5 separate regions of the Homo sapiens genome follow, and regions 1, 3, 4 and 5 are each linked to region 2. Evidence: promoter capture Hi-C in human tissues and cell types (Jung and others, 2019). All regions are on one chromosome and are shown on one strand. The core of a region is centred on a gene start or on the middle of the fragment in contact, and the rest is flanking DNA. Distances in the headings are between cores, read along the strand shown. Region 1 has its middle 7.5 kb from the start of LINC00428. Region 2 holds the start of CCDC122 (coiled-coil domain containing 122). Region 3 overlaps LINC00400 (long intergenic non-protein coding RNA 400). Region 4 overlaps ENOX1 (ecto-NOX disulfide-thiol exchanger 1). Region 5 overlaps ENOX1 (ecto-NOX disulfide-thiol exchanger 1).

What was found. The method cuts DNA at HindIII sites, captures the fragments that hold promoters and counts their contacts. A contact is called where the count stands out against the background at its distance.
Region 1: a fragment that was not itself captured here is called in contact with the fragment with the promoter of CCDC122 in region 2 in 1 of the 25 tissues and cell types used here (dorsolateral prefrontal cortex).
Region 3: a fragment that was not itself captured here is called in contact with the fragment with the promoter of CCDC122 in region 2 in 2 of the 25 tissues and cell types used here (dorsolateral prefrontal cortex and lymphoblastoid cells).
Region 4: a fragment that was not itself captured here is called in contact with the fragment with the promoter of CCDC122 in region 2 in 1 of the 25 tissues and cell types used here (stomach).
Region 5: a fragment that was not itself captured here is called in contact with the fragment with the promoter of CCDC122 in region 2 in 1 of the 25 tissues and cell types used here (dorsolateral prefrontal cortex).

Annotation. Positions count from the first base shown.
Region 1 is chr13:42,878,718-42,881,814 of GRCh38, reverse strand. No RefSeq gene overlaps it. Among named protein-coding and RNA genes, the nearest start is that of LINC00428, 7.5 kb to the right of the region's middle. The HindIII fragment of the contact is 3,282 bases long and covers 1-3,097 here.
Region 2 is chr13:43,878,353-43,881,146 of GRCh38, reverse strand. CCDC122 (coiled-coil domain containing 122) reads left to right here and starts at 1,407. Exons shown (of 7, transcript NM_144974.5): 1 at 1,407-1,516. LACC1 (laccase domain containing 1) reads right to left here and starts at 1,243. Exons shown (of 7, transcript NM_153218.4): 1 at 1,028-1,243; 2 at 1-195. The coding sequence starts at 161. RefSeq lists a silencer at 1,356-1,505. The HindIII fragment of the contact is 6,836 bases long and covers 1-2,794 here.
Region 3 is chr13:43,136,029-43,138,901 of GRCh38, reverse strand. The region is part of intron 1 of LINC00400 (long intergenic non-protein coding RNA 400); the gene reads right to left. Among named protein-coding and RNA genes, the nearest start is that of LINC00400, 24 kb to the right of the region's middle. The HindIII fragment of the contact is 5,587 bases long and covers 1-2,873 here.
Region 4 is chr13:43,297,446-43,300,180 of GRCh38, reverse strand. It overlaps ENOX1 (ecto-NOX disulfide-thiol exchanger 1), which reads left to right. Exons shown (of 17, transcript NM_001347969.2): 12 at 1,651-1,835. Among named protein-coding and RNA genes, the nearest start is that of ENOX1-AS2, 150 kb to the left of the region's middle. The HindIII fragment of the contact is 4,025 bases long and covers 1-2,735 here.
Region 5 is chr13:43,317,905-43,320,904 of GRCh38, reverse strand. The region is part of intron 11 of ENOX1 (ecto-NOX disulfide-thiol exchanger 1); the gene reads left to right. Among named protein-coding and RNA genes, the nearest start is that of ENOX1-AS2, 130 kb to the left of the region's middle. The HindIII fragment of the contact is 4,463 bases long and covers 1-3,000 here.

The sequences.
Region 1 (3,097 bases), core at 364-2,863, 1.0 Mb after region 2:
GGTAACAGTGTACTGTAGGGATCCACCATTCGCAGCTGCTTGAGATATGGCTTCTGTTCATAAATCCCTATTATTTCATTCTGAGAATCTGGACTTGTCAGCTTCTTTCTTCAGCTCCTCACCTTCCCTGGCCTTTGGAAGTAGGTTTGTATAGGCCTGCTCACCTCGGAACACACACACACACACACACACACACACACACACACAGAGAGAGGGAGAGGGAGAGAGAGAGAGAGAGAGAGACTAGTGTGGTTGTTGCTTGGAAGTGGGAGACAAGATATAGGAGAGGAGAAACACCCTGGAAGAGAGCTTCTCTCAATGTTTTGGAATTTGTCCCAGTTAATTGGCCAACCCCAGGTGTGATAATCAAGGATAGAAAGATTCTTGGGATAAGGATATCATATTAAGCTAATCAGTTATGAATAAACCTAAACCCCGCCAACAGCAGCTGCTGATGCAAACCAAAGGGCTGGCTTTGCCCCTTTACAGGCAATGCCTGTCCTTTAATCCCTGCAGATGGTTAGCAATGCCATGAGCCATAGCATTTTGGAAAAGAAAGGGGAACCACGGGATTTCTGGAAGATATGAGAATGTAGCTCTGCCATTCACTAATGTTGAAACCTTGGACAAATCTCTTATCTCCACCTTACCTCACAGGATAGGTTGTAGACAAACTGATGGGATAAATGCTCTTAAAAGGTAAATGGGAATGCAAGGTAGGAGAGTAGCAAGGGAAATACTATATTAGTTTTAAATGAAAAGATACTTTCTCAACTCCTTTCTTTATTACTAAAAATGTTGGTCCTTCTTTCTTCCTACCTTATCACCATTTTCTAGATCACCTGGCCATGTATACTTACAGGCCTCAACAGTCTTCCTTCCTTCTCATAATTATCCCTGCATAATTCATTGGCAGGGATTATCAATTCTACCACCACAATATCTTTAGCAACTTTCCCTTTTATTTCAGGCTCACTACCATCCTCTTTAATTGGTTTCTTGTGATGTTTTACAGAGACTATTGTCAGAAAAAACCATTGGATCTTTTTGCCTCCTGCACTTCACTTCTATGGTATAAAGGAATCTTTTGAGGAAGTGCGTGTGTCGTTTTAAGGTTTGTGCTAGCCAAGCAGGGAGGAGGCTTGGAATGCTAAGACAGGTACTCAACAATTGGAGAAGGCAGGTTTTAATGAATTCAAGAAAAGATTGTTTTAATTCTATTTCTCAAGAGGAAACTCAAAAGAATTGGTAAGCTTTCAAAATTATAATTCTATCTTTGCAATCACACATGTTGTTCATGCTGCAGACAAAAGGAAAAGACATTCGGAGCCAAGGTGGCTGCACACTCCCACTGAGAAACTCGGATTTTAAAAAGATGTGCCAAAAAGTGGAAAGAGGCACGCTGCCAAAGATTGTGTTGAAGAAAGGCAGGGACCAGTAACAGATCAGAAGGGCCAAAGACCAGAGTGAGCTGAGGCTTAGAGAAAAGAAAGTAAGGATAATGGAGGGCTCTTAAATTTAGAGCAAGAATAAGGAAGGAAGAGGCTCGCTGCCTGAGGCCAGTGGTGTGATGTTGATGGATGACATGAAGAAAACAGAACTCCTTTCCTCCCATTTAGTCCTGTCTTCTCTGTCAAGGAGAGTGATCTTTGGACTGAAAAGGGTAGAACGAACATTGTTAAGAGAAAATTGAAGCCCAAGATGGGTGTAGAGATTATGCGAGAGCATGCATCCGCTGTAAATGAGCCGAAATGTCTGGATCTGAATGAATTACAGTGCAGAGCTCTGAAAAACGTGCGAATGAATTCTCCCTACTTAAGAGGAGGGAGCTTTGGAGGTGGAGGAGGAGAGAAAAGTGAAACCTCCCTTGCAAAAATTGTAACAGTGAGAAAATTATGGCAGTGAAAGAGATCTGATTTAACCAACCCCCATCTTGCCTTTAGCCTTCAAACTGCCCTTAATTATCCCTTGGCTTGGGTCTACCTAGCTTTGGGAGACATTTAGTTTATAGGTTAAATTGCCGGGCACGGTGGCTCACGCCTGTAATCCCAGCACTTTGGGAGGACGAGGTGGGCGGATCCCGAGGTCAGGAGATGGAGACCATCCTGGCTAACACGGTGAAACGCTGACTCTACTAAAAATACCAAAAATTAGCCGGGCGTGGTGCTGGGCGCCTGTAGTCCCAGCTACTCAGGAGGCTGAGGCAGGAGAATGGCGTGAACCCGGAAGGCAGAGGTTGCAGTGAGCCAAAATCACGCCACTGCACTCCAGCCTGGGCGACAGATGGAGACTGTCTCAAAAAAAATAAATACATAAAAAATAAAGAAATAAAAATAAATGATAATACCCTCCTCGCAAGCTTAACCACCTTTGCAAAGCTAATGAGAAACCACCAGACTAGTAGGAGGATAGGAGCCTGAATTCTGCTAAGGTGTAGGCATAAACGATGGCCAGCCATTATTCCGGAGGTCACAAGATATGCTACTTCCCAATTACTCCTGCAGACAACATCACTATTTTAGAACCTAAGATTGGCTTTTGAGATGTCTTTTCAAGTTTTTTGTATGTCTGACACTGATGGCTCCACCTGGACCCACTAGTTGCTCCTGTGACCCCACCCAGAAGTGACTCAGTGCATGAGGACCATTTCCCACACTTTTATGATTGTACCCCCACCAATCAGCAGCAAGCACCCATTGCCTAGCTGTGCCCCCGTCTCTTTATCCTTGAAAAACCCTAGCCTTCGAATTTTTGAGGAGACCAATTTGAGTAATAATAAATTCCTGTGTCCTGTTTAGCTGGCTCTATGTGTGTAAAATTCTTTCTCTATTGCAATTCCCCTGCCTTCATAAATTAGCTCTATCTGGGCAGTGGACAAGAAAAACCCACTGGGTGGTTATAAAAGCAGGCCAACTGGAGACAAGCCAAGTCCGTGACCTAGGAACTGTAGAATCCAGTTTTGGAAAGCACCCTAGGTATCTATTTTAACCATTACCCAATGCATAACTAAATGTACATGTAGAGATGGTTTATGAAGAGTCAATAACTATTATGATAGGCCCAGCTTATCTGTCTGTTATTTGATTCTCTTCCCTTA
Region 2 (2,794 bases), core at 158-2,657:
CTTTCATAGCTGATGTTACTGCAACACATTATACAGAGAAACTTGGCCTTGGCAGCATGGTGGTATTGGACAGCATTCAAAGTCTTCAGTAATGTCTGATGGCAGTTTTTTTGAGAGTTCAATTTCAAACCAAAAAGATCAATCAAAACAGCTTCTGCCATCCTTGAAAGAATACTTTTATGCCAAATAAATCACCTGCAAATAAAAATTAGTGTAAGAATATAAGATTATATAAATCTTATAGTTACAACAGAAATTTGTGGTAGATTAAAAACGAAGTAATTACACTGATTTTAAAATGTAACTAAAATAGTAAATCTAGGCCCCTCCCAGAAAAGCCAGTCTACTCTGTCACAACAGAACCATGACAGTGAAAGCAAAGCCATCTTTTAATTCGTTTTGTGAAAATGCTGGTACATCTTTCCAGCAGCACGACAGTTCCTCTGTTTTGTTTACACAGAACTTTTGAGTAAGGAATTACTTGTGGAGTTTAGACAAAGTCCTGTTTTTAAATTGCAGAGTGTCAACCTGTGTGATATATCATTAGTCCTGACATGATTGTCATATTAGGTCTCATCCTTTCATATGCGGGGGCTTAAGTTTACGAAGCTAAATGGAGCTGCACGCGAAATTCGCGTTTTAAGATGATAAAAGCTGAGATGGCTAATAGAGTTCCCTTCAGGATTTGCGCAGTACTCCACACTTAGCAATGACCACAAAAGCTATAGTGATTTGGATGAGACAGGCTTCCTCTCAACTTTCTTAATTCATTCTCCCCGTGCAGCTTTGCTCACCTCCAGCCCAGCCCTCCCACCCCAACCTGCGGGGCTCCGGTGACCCCCTTTGGTGACGCCCTTTGCCCCAAGAAGGTTTTCTCCTGCCGCTTCCCCTAACCTTTGCTCCCCATCTCTCGGGGCTCCCTCTGAGGTTCATTTAGCCAGTTTTGAGTGGGTGACCGTCCCCCCTTCCCTGTTCATTGTGAATTTCCGCCCAACGTGTGTCGCCGCCAGGTCCCTGTTCCTCCTACCCGCCTCGGCTCACGGGGCGCAGGCTGTGGCTCTGCACCTGCCCGGGCACCTCCACCGGCGGCTCACAGCCCATTCGGGACTTCCTGTCGGACAACGCACACCAGAGGCGATTCGGTCCTCGCCTTCCCGCTCTTCACCTTCGGTTGCACACCGGTCTACGGCGACCTCTGTGACAATTTGCCGCCCCGTCCCTCGTCCTGAGCCTCAACGAAATTGGGCAGCCGCGAGCGGGTCAGCTGGAGTCGTAAGCTCGGCCCAGCGCGACGACACCCGCCCCGCCTCACCTCGCCCACCTCGCCCACCTCGCCCCGCCTCGCCTCGCCCCGCCTCGCCCCGCCTCACCTCGCCCCCCTCGCCCACCTCGCCCCGCCTCACCTCACCTACCTCGCCGCGGCCGCACAGATTCCCCGCCTGATACCGTCCCAGGATCCCAGGGGAAACCTGACGGCCAGGTTCCCTCGTGCCAGCTGCCGGGAGGCGGGAGGGAGGTAGGCCAGGGCCGCCTGGCGTGCTTGGTGCGAACGCGGCGGGCCCAGCGCGAGAGCTGGGGAATCCCGGGATGAGCCAAGCGCCGCGAGCCCGCTGCTGCCTCAGCAGTTCCGGGTCTGGGCGGTCCGCGGAGTCGGCATCCCGCAGCCCCGGCGGCGTTAGAGGAACAGGAACCAGAGCCGCGCGAGGGCTCTCGCCCGGGAGCCAGGCGGGTTAGCGGGCAGGAGTGGGCAGGCCGAGTCCGGAAAGGGTCGCGAGGAGGCAGCTAGGGGCCCCTTGAGGAGGGATAGGGCGGCGGAACGACGGGCCCTGGGAGCGGGCGCAGGGCGGCAGGAGCTGCAGGTCTCCAGAGGGCACGGGGCGGGGAACTAGGGGCCCGGTTAGAAAGCCGGGCGGCGGGAACGGCGGGCACCGTGAGGGGGCGGCGGGAATGGTGGGTCGCGTGAGGCCGGGCTGCTGGAGCGACCTCGGGACTAAACCGCAGTCTCCCTTCTGCTAATGGAAGCCGTTTCCCAAGCGAGCTGAAGTCCGCGTTTCCGGTCTCTGAGGGACGCCTCGCTGACCCAGCAGTGTGGTCAGGACGCTGGGTTTCCTCACCGCAGCCCAGGGCCAGTCCCTTGTCATGCTAGCTCTTGGCAGCTTTTCCCATGCAGGGCTCAAGTCAGGGGCCCCCTCGAGATGTTTTAGTGTTTTTTTGTTGTTCATTTGTTTCCAGAAACAAGCTGTTGTCTCTCCTCCAATGTCTTTGTGCTGATTCTTGCTGACCAACACTCTTCCGAGCGCCTTCACTTGTGTTGACAACACGGATGTCCTCTATGGCCTTTTAAAATATGTGCCACTAGCAGGACTTAAGTAAAAGGCGCTCATCCCTAAAATCATGATAAAGGTGCAGTTTAGCATCCCTGATCTGTCCTCCAAGAATATAACGTTCATTTATTTGAAAATAGCAGTTAGGACATGGAAGGCCAGTGTATGGTAAAGGGAAAAAATATCCGACCTTCCAAGAGTAAGAGAAATGGTGCTTCCTGGGGAACTGGTTATGATGGAAGGAGAGGTCCCTTTTATCTTCATTGTTGCTCATTTGGTAGGCGCTAAAGAACCTTTGTCTCATAATCTCAGATAGCTGGGAATTTGGAAGAGCCCTCTGGGGTAGGCATGTTCTTGTGCTTGACTAGAGACTGGGAGCACTAACCCAGAATGGAAACCCACCCTTCAATAACCCTAGCACCAGTTATGTCAAAATTCATGTTTTCTTTGGTCATTTGTTAAAGAGCCCC
Region 3 (2,873 bases), core at 208-2,707, 740 kb after region 2:
TCAGCTTCATAGCTCTTTCATCCCTGAAGGGGCAGAGTACATGTGGGATCACATGTTTACTCCTGGTAGCAGAATCATGGCAAAGTTTGCTTCTCTACTTCCTGGAAGGGGTTTTGTGAGAACCTGTGCTCCTCTCAAAAGTAGGTTGACTTTTCTAAGAAGCTTTTGTGAGAAGGTAGGATCAAAGCCACTCTGTCATCTTTTACCCTCTCTCATTGACAACCCTCTTTCTCTTGAGTCTCCAAGAGACACCCTATATCACTGTGATAAAAAAAAACATTGACCTTGAGATCCCAGGTGCAGGAATTTGGCTACCCATTGGGTTCATTTACCTCTATACCCTTCTACCAAATTATAGGAAGAACCATTGAGAAGACCAACTTGGATTTGTGCAAATATAGTCATCATGGCAACCATACTTGTTCAGTCATTCAACCATGGAAGAACTTTCTGTTAATATTGGTATGGACCAGCCAGATGAGTCCTCAATGAGGACAGGCCAATACAAAATTCGGTGTAAAAAACATAGGTAAGAACGCAGAAGACCGGCATCACAATGAAACATGGTGACAGGACAGCATCCTTGAAGCTCCCTAAACAAATGGGAAAAGAGATTTCAAAACAGTAATAACCACGAGCAGATATTTATAGAGCTTGTGTGCTAAACGATAGTCTAGTCCCTGCAGCTAGAGAGGAGCACACTTGGTAGAAAAACAATTTTGCCGCTGCCCTGGAGGACCTTGTGGATTAATGAGGACACAGAAAGGTGGATGTGTTTTTACAGCCCCACAGGGAGGTTCTACAACACACAGGTGGGAAGAAAGTCATCTGAGAGCAGAGGGAGGTACCCGGCTTTTTTCAGAGCAACCAGGGACAGTTTCTCAGAGGATGTTCATCACTCAGGAATCTAAAAGGACAAGCTAGGATGACAAGCCAGCAGTGTTTGCAATGTCTTGGGCTCATTGAGCAGACAGTAGTGTTAGATGTCAAACAGACCTGGGTTTCGACCATAGCAGACTCACTGCGGGACGCACGGCCCTGAGCAAATTACTTAGCCTGGGTGAGCCTCCATTTCTGAATCTGTAAAATGGGAATAGTAATAAATATCAATCTCAGAGAATCATTAGAAGCATAAAACACCACAAGACATACAAACTGCTCGCTCTCATGCCCAGTACATTTGAGGCTTTCGATAAAAAATGACTTTTTTTAGTTTTCATATTTTGTGCTTCAGTTATTAAAACTGAATGATGGACCACATTTAAGAGAGAGAGTCCCAAAAGAGAGAGGATTGTTGTGGTTTCTGCCTTCCACCCCCACAACTTTGCACTAAAAAAGAAAAAAGAAAAAAAGAATGTAATGCGGCAGCTCCCCAAGGCATTACATTAGTGAAAAAAAAGAACTTGCTGGTTTTCCCTTTGAGCCCGACAGGCTTTGAGAGAAATCTGAAGAGTCATCCCTATGAAAGTGAAGGCTGACAACACTACCCCATTTCAGCATGCCTGCTTGGTTTACAGACAGCTGCCTGTGCGATCAATACTGCAGGGCTCAAGGTAGCAGGCTGTGTTCCAGCCCACCCCACACATCAGGGCTGCTTATTGATTCCAGCTGCTGCTGGAAAAAGCCAGGGCTCCTATTCCTCGATTTTGAGAGGCAGAATTGGGGATCTGGGGCTGACTCTTGAGAAAACTGGGGGCCCAGATATTCTCACAGGTAACTCATAAACTTGGGTCATCAGAGAGCTGAGTCAGCACCCAAAGGCGGCCGAGAAATTGGCTCTCTGGTGGCGGAACTCTCCAGGCTAGTTAGTGTAACAGGAGGGAGCTCTGCCCTGGAGTTCACAGCACTGGTAAGTAGCATTTATTCAGCATCACATACTGATGGCCAGACTTAGCAAATAAAAATACAGCATGTCCAGTTAAATTTGAATTTCAAATGAGTGATGAATTTTTTTTAGCATAACTACATCCCAAATATTGCAAGATGTAATTATACTTAAAAATTGCACATTGTTTGGCTGGGTGCGGTGGCTCATGCCTGTAATCCCAGCACTTTGGGAGGCTGAGGTGGGCGGATCACTTGAAGTCAAGAGTTCAAGACCAGCCTGGCCAACATGGTGAAACCCCATCTCTACTAAAAATGCAAAAATTAGCTGGGTGTGGTGGCATGCACCTGTAGTCCCAGCTGCTCAGGAGGCTGAGGCAAGAGAATCGCTTGAACCCAGGAGGTGGAGGTTGCAGTGAGCCGAGATCGTGCCACTGCACTCCAGCCTGGGTGACAGAGAGAGACCTTGTCTCAAAAAAATAAAATAAAATAAATAAAATAAACTGTACATAGTTTATGTGAAATTTAAATTTACCTGGGCATCCTGTATTTATGTGCCAAATATTTCATAGGACATTCTTTTTTTTTTTTTTTTTTTTTGAGACTGAGTTTCACTCTTGTTGCCCAGGCTGGAGTGCGATGGCGCGATCTTGGCTCACTGCAACCTCCACCTTCTGGGTTCAAGCGATTCTCCTGCCTCAGCCTCCCTACCAGCTGGGACTATAGGCTCCCGCTACCATGCCCAGCTAATTCTTTGTATTTTTTAGTAGAGTTGGGGTTTTACCATGTTGGCCAGGCTGGTCTCGAACTCCCAACCTCAAGCGATCCACCCGCCTCAGCCTCCCAAAGTGCTGGGATTACAGGCATGAGCCACTGTGCCTGGCTTCATAGGACATTCTTTTTTCTTTTTTTTGAGTCGGAGTTTCGCTCTTGTCACCCAGGCTGGAGTGCAGTGGCGCAATCTAAGCTCACTGCAACCTCCACCTCCTAGGTTCAAGCAATTCTCCTGCCTCAGCCTCCCAAGTAGCTGGGATTACAGGCACCCGCCA
Region 4 (2,735 bases), core at 131-2,630, 580 kb after region 2:
AATATGAAGTAAATGCGTGTTAAGTAATTGATCCCTACTGGCTTGAGGTAGGGAAATTTCTGGGTAATTGCATGTTCTGTCTGATTAGTAGTTCAGTGTGTACTACACAGAGATTATCATTTTGCAAGATGGAGTACTGTAAAACACTCAACTATAAAACTATTATTAACATAATTTGACATTTGATATTTGAGGAGAGAATTCACTGTGGTCTCAGAGAACCTCAGTAAAGCTTTATCACCATGGAACTGTAATGTGCAGGTAGAACACTCAGGAGGCGACCTTGATTTGGTCCTCTGACACGGGGAGCGGGGGCTGGAAACGCGCATGCACTGACGACCTGGTGTGCAGTGGGCTCCACACCGTGCCCTTATCTACTGGAAGTTACATGTTTGAAGTTTCTGGTAACAAGCGTTTCAAATTTTCTTTCACTTTTCTCTTGCTTACACAAGTGGGGAATGGCTTTTCTGTGAGGGGGAAGATTAAAGGGAGAGTGGTGGGAGAGTTGGTGGGGGAATGTGAGACTGGTTTTGAACAGCCTGGTAAGAACTAAACACATGGACCGATGGTAATCGAGAGCAGAGACTCTGGAGCCTGCAGCCTGGGTGTGAAGGCTTTCTGCTACTTACTTTGTGGGATTGGATGAGTTACATAACTTCTCTGTGCCACATTTTTCTCATCTGTAAAGATGAGCATAAGACCAGCACCGGCATCACAGGCTTGGTGGGGGTATGAAGTGAGTGAGTTCATACAAAGCTCTTGATCCAGTGCTTTATGAGTGCTCAGCAGGCTATGTTGATTTTCGGAGAGACCCCTAAGCAATAAGGTAGAAACTAGGGAAAGGGATTTCCCTACCCTCAATCTTTGTTTGGTACCATTTGTTTCTTTTTCAGTTTCGGCTATTTCTGAAGCCTTGAGATGTGTGAGACCCTGAGTTAACTGTCTTGGTTTCTTAATAAGATAGACATATGAATGAAGTCTGAATCTAAATGTGGAGAATTTGGGGTTTCAGGGAGAGGTATTAGAGTAACCACTCAGCCTTGTAGAGGAAAAGAGTTTTAATCTGTTGGTGAAACAGATGGAACTAGCTTCCCATTCTGATAGGAGTTGGAGGAAAACAATCTGTGCAATTTGTCCCAGCAGTAGAGCAGGAAGGAGTGGTGTGCATATAATTTCCTCTCTCCCCTGGGATGCTGCCGCATGTCTCAACCTGTGGAACTGCTGATTATTTGAAAGCAAGCAGCCCTCCAAGTAGCTAAGCAATCCCGTAGAAAGGGGGAAGACAATATTTAGTAGATATGATTGTTGCCTGGAATTCTAAATGTTGTCACCACCTAGCACCACATACCAATGTCTGTGAGGGTGTCTAGCATTGAGGGAGAGGTCAAGGGATGAGAATTTGGGAGGAATTAATCCTGTGCCCATAAGAAACATTCACATGTAAGACAGGACAAACAGAATAGATAAAAGTTCCGAGAGAAGTGATGCATACCGACTACAAAAGAGAGGCCCAGGGAGTGGCATTTTGCTTTTATTTCTGAGCTGGTACAAACATTAAGAACTTGGGTGACAGACTCCCTTTCCCACAGAAGGCCTCCTCAAGCTAAGCAAGAAGGTAGCTCACCTGAACTCGTTCTGTTTGTCCCTCAGCCCTGGCTGCCCAGGCCTACGCTCTGAAAGAGGAGAATGACAGTCTCCGCTGGCAGCTGGATGCCTACAGGAATGAGGTGGAGCTGCTGAAACAAGAAAAAGAACAGCTTTTCCGAACAGAAGAAAACCTCACCAAGGACCAGCAACTGCAGTTTCTGCAGCAAACCATGCAAGGCATGCAGCAGGTACCTGGCCCAGATTTTTTTTTTTTTTTTGAGAGAAAGAGATATGTGTATTAAATGAAAATGGAAAGGCAGCCGTGTGCTGGAAAGGGTGAAGGAGAAGAAATGACAACCAAAAAGCTATGTTACTAGGACAGAAAAGTGCTAATGACTGTTTGTGGAAGGGTAGAATCTGGAGAAAAGCCAAGCCAATAAAATATGTTGAAGAAATCACCCTGGAGGTAGGAAATAAAGGAAAATGATTTGGATTTAGGAGATTGAAAGGCTGCATGTGAAATATAGCCCCATGGCAAATACCTAGCAGATCCCTGCATGATACAAGCATTTTGTAATCTTAGAACTTTTAACTTCAAAGCACGACAACTGATTTTACAAAAGCAGTTTGTTTGTCTGTCTTCAAGGTTAGTGTAAATGTAAATTATATTGTTTCCACTTTTTCTGTATTACACTTAGGATCTAGTCAGGTTCTTTGAGCACATTACGTGTTTAAGAAGTGTTTGTTGATGGAATACATGAAGCATCAGAGTTTTGGGGGATAAATAACTTTAGAAACAGGGCAATAGCTGTGTTTTTGTTGAAGAGTGCCAGACCTCATCCTGGCATACTGAATTTAAAGATGTATATTTATGGCAATTGTTAAAAAGGAAATGAAAGTTGAGGGCTTTGGAGTAGGGAAAAGGAACAGGTACTGTGGGATATAAAATGTCGACAGGAGGGGAAAATCTGACTGTTGGCAGTGAGGGAATAGAGTCAAAGATTCACAGTCAGATTTGTATCTGAAAACGTCAATTGGTACCTGATATTCTTAAGGTGTTTGGGCCTTTGAGTTACCTTAGAATAACAGAGCATATATTATCATCATGGGTATTTTTAAATTATCCCTCTGAATATACAAATCCAATC
Region 5 (3,000 bases), core at 487-2,986, 560 kb after region 2:
AACCTTCACATAGCAAAAGAAGGGGGCAAGGATTTGTGTGAATTTCTTAAGTTCAACAAGATCTTCAAATAAAGAAATAAACTTTTTTTTTGTCAAAAGCGCTTTCATCCTTTGTGAAGCTTCTGGATGAGAGGCAAGTTGACATGAAACTTGGATTCTTAATATCCTGACAAGGTAGGTGTAGGAGAAAAGAACTGCATCAGTCAGAAATTCTCATTTGAACCTGTGGCTTTTTGTTTTGTCTTGGTGATGTTTCTTTTTAAATAACTTGTCAATTTCCCAAGTAAGAATTGTGTATAATTTCATAGTCTGCTTAGGATAGGACCAGAATAATGATGACTCTGAATAGTATGCTCACTGAGGTCTTGCGGCACGTACATGCTTATAGGATCGGGGCCCGGCCTCTGCTGCAGAAGCATCGACGGAGATGTGATCCCCCGACACCTCTCTCGGTTTATTCCCCAGGCATCTGATGAGAACGTGAAGTAGAGCCTGAACTTTTAAAAAAAACTTTCACCAGTCTTGTTACTTGGTCAGCAGAATTAATGAGCAAAGTGCAGGGCATGTTGTATGCCAAGTTCTGAGGGAAGAGATGAAAGAACCGGAGTTCAAATGCCAGGCCCCGAGCAGTTCAAAGTCTTTTCGTGCTTTTCAAAACGAGATGGACCAGAGAATGTGGCATGTGGTTTCTGAAGAAAGCACAGGACTGATTAAAGGGAAAGGAAGGCAACTAACCTTTTTTATTCCACGGGGCCCTGAAGATCTGGCCCAAAGGCAGGCAGTTGTTTTTCTTTCAGCCCTGCATATTTGGGGACACAGCCTGACAGCAAGAATTCCCATCTGGTCTTTTGTTCAAACCTCAGACAAATCCCTGCTAACTGTTGCTTGAAGCAGGAGGATGGAGGCCATAGCCCGAGGGAAACACCTTCCAGCGGTATCTTCTTGGGTGACACATCCCTTGTTTTTAGGTACACATTTGCATCTGCCAGTCACCTACATAGGAGCAGTCCTCTCAAAATGTAGCACTCTAATTCACTAACAGGGGAATTGCCAGTGCTGTAATGGAAGTGAAATTCTCCATGCTGTAAGGAATCCCCTGCCAATTTCCTCTCTGCTTAAACAGTGGGATTTTGCTTCAGACCTCCTGGGTAGTAGCTGACCCAGGAATTCTTGGAAATTCCAGAAGAGAATATCCTTCAGTTGTCACCTGCCTGTGCCGGGAGGAGGTGCTGAGGCTGCACCCACTGCAGGGCGCTCTGTCTGTGGTCCCCCAGGGCCAGCTTTGCTTGTCATCTCCATACTAAGACAAAAAGTACCCTGTAATGGGTTTTATTTTGGGGGGCAGGGAAGAGATGGAAATAATTGACTTGTTTGGTTTTTAGGAAAGGCACAATTTATTGTGTAAGGACTTATATGATACCTTGGGTTTACTTTTTAAAAAATAATCAAAATGTTTCAATATATCTCTGCTTTTTGGTTATGAAGAATATTTCATTGTACTTTTCTTTTTACCATATATAATAATTTGCAATATGTCTTTGGCTATAATTCTGCAGTATCTACAATAGAATTCTGGGTGGGGTGTTCACTCTTCTTGATCAGTTGAATCTTAAAGGGGAAAAGGAGTTCACTGGAGCAAAACTAAGATGCTGATAAAAATGAAAATCAATTTTGTTAATAAATTCAAAAATAATGACAGATTTATTGAAGCATTCATTCTAGAAGATCGGCATCCTGCTCTGAAGCCTGTGAAGATAATTTTTGATAAAAATTCAAATTTATTGTTGTTTAGTCTGCCTCCTACTGAAATGAAGCCAGACTTTAAAATCCAGATCTGTTCTTCCTTTTTCTCTTTCTCTCTCTCTTCCTCCCTCCCTCTCTCTCCCTCTCTCCTTCTCCCTTACCCTTTTCCACTCCCTTCCTCCCTCTCTCCCTCCAGGTTGACTCTGTGGGGCGGGATAGCGTTCGCAAGAAATAAAAAGGAGAAAGGAAAGAGGAAGGCTGTCCTAGATTGTAAGGCCTCAGATGGCAAAACCCGATACGTTTTAGTATTGTGAGAGTTAATAAGTCAATGCATGCAAGGCACTTCTGACTTTACTTACAGTGTTGAGCATCTAGTAAGTACTCAATAAATGTTAACTCTGCTTGTTATCTTAGTCATCCTCCAACACGTGGCCCTGGGCCTTTCCCCAAGTACGTAATCAATAAAAGTCTGTGGACTTCAATTCATATTCCCCTTCTTCTGATCTTAATGTTTTCGATGCCTTTGTCCCAGAAGTTGATAGGAGGATGATAACCCTGAGAACATTTGCTCTAATTAAATTGAAATGGCAAGTATTAAAGAGGCATGTTCAAACAAAATGTTCAGAACTTTATACGTACAAAATTCAGTGTCACATGGCGAACAGGCCATGGCCCAGAGAGCTTTAACCCAGCACTGTTTTGATTATCTACATTTTGTATGTCCAAGGTGCTGTGGACCCAGGGCACACAGAGTTAGTTAGATACAGGGTACCCAGTTCTCTAGGGTGTAAGACTCATTTGAAAAAAGTGTTTTCAGTTAAAAATATTAGGGATGTCCTAAAGCTGGTAAATTAAATTTATTATAAACCAAAATGAACATCACTACATAGTGTATGTACCTCACCCAATATTTGATGAGTGTACTTTGAACACAAATGTTAGAAGAGTAAAACTAAAAAGTCCCTTGCTCAGTAGACAATCATTATGCCTTTCCATAATACACAAACAAATGTTTTTGGATTTTAACTGCATTTCATTTAAACTCTGAGCTCCTTATAGGAGCAGACACTCTAAATTATGAAGAGTGTTTTTCTGAGCTGTCAATTTTTCATGAAAATTCACCATAACATAGGTACAAAGGAATTTTTTTTTTTTTTGAGACGGAGTCTTGCTCTGTCACCCAGGCTGGAGTGCAGTGGCATGATCTTGGCTCACTGCGAGCTCTGCCTCCCGGGTTCACGCCATTCTCCTGCCTCA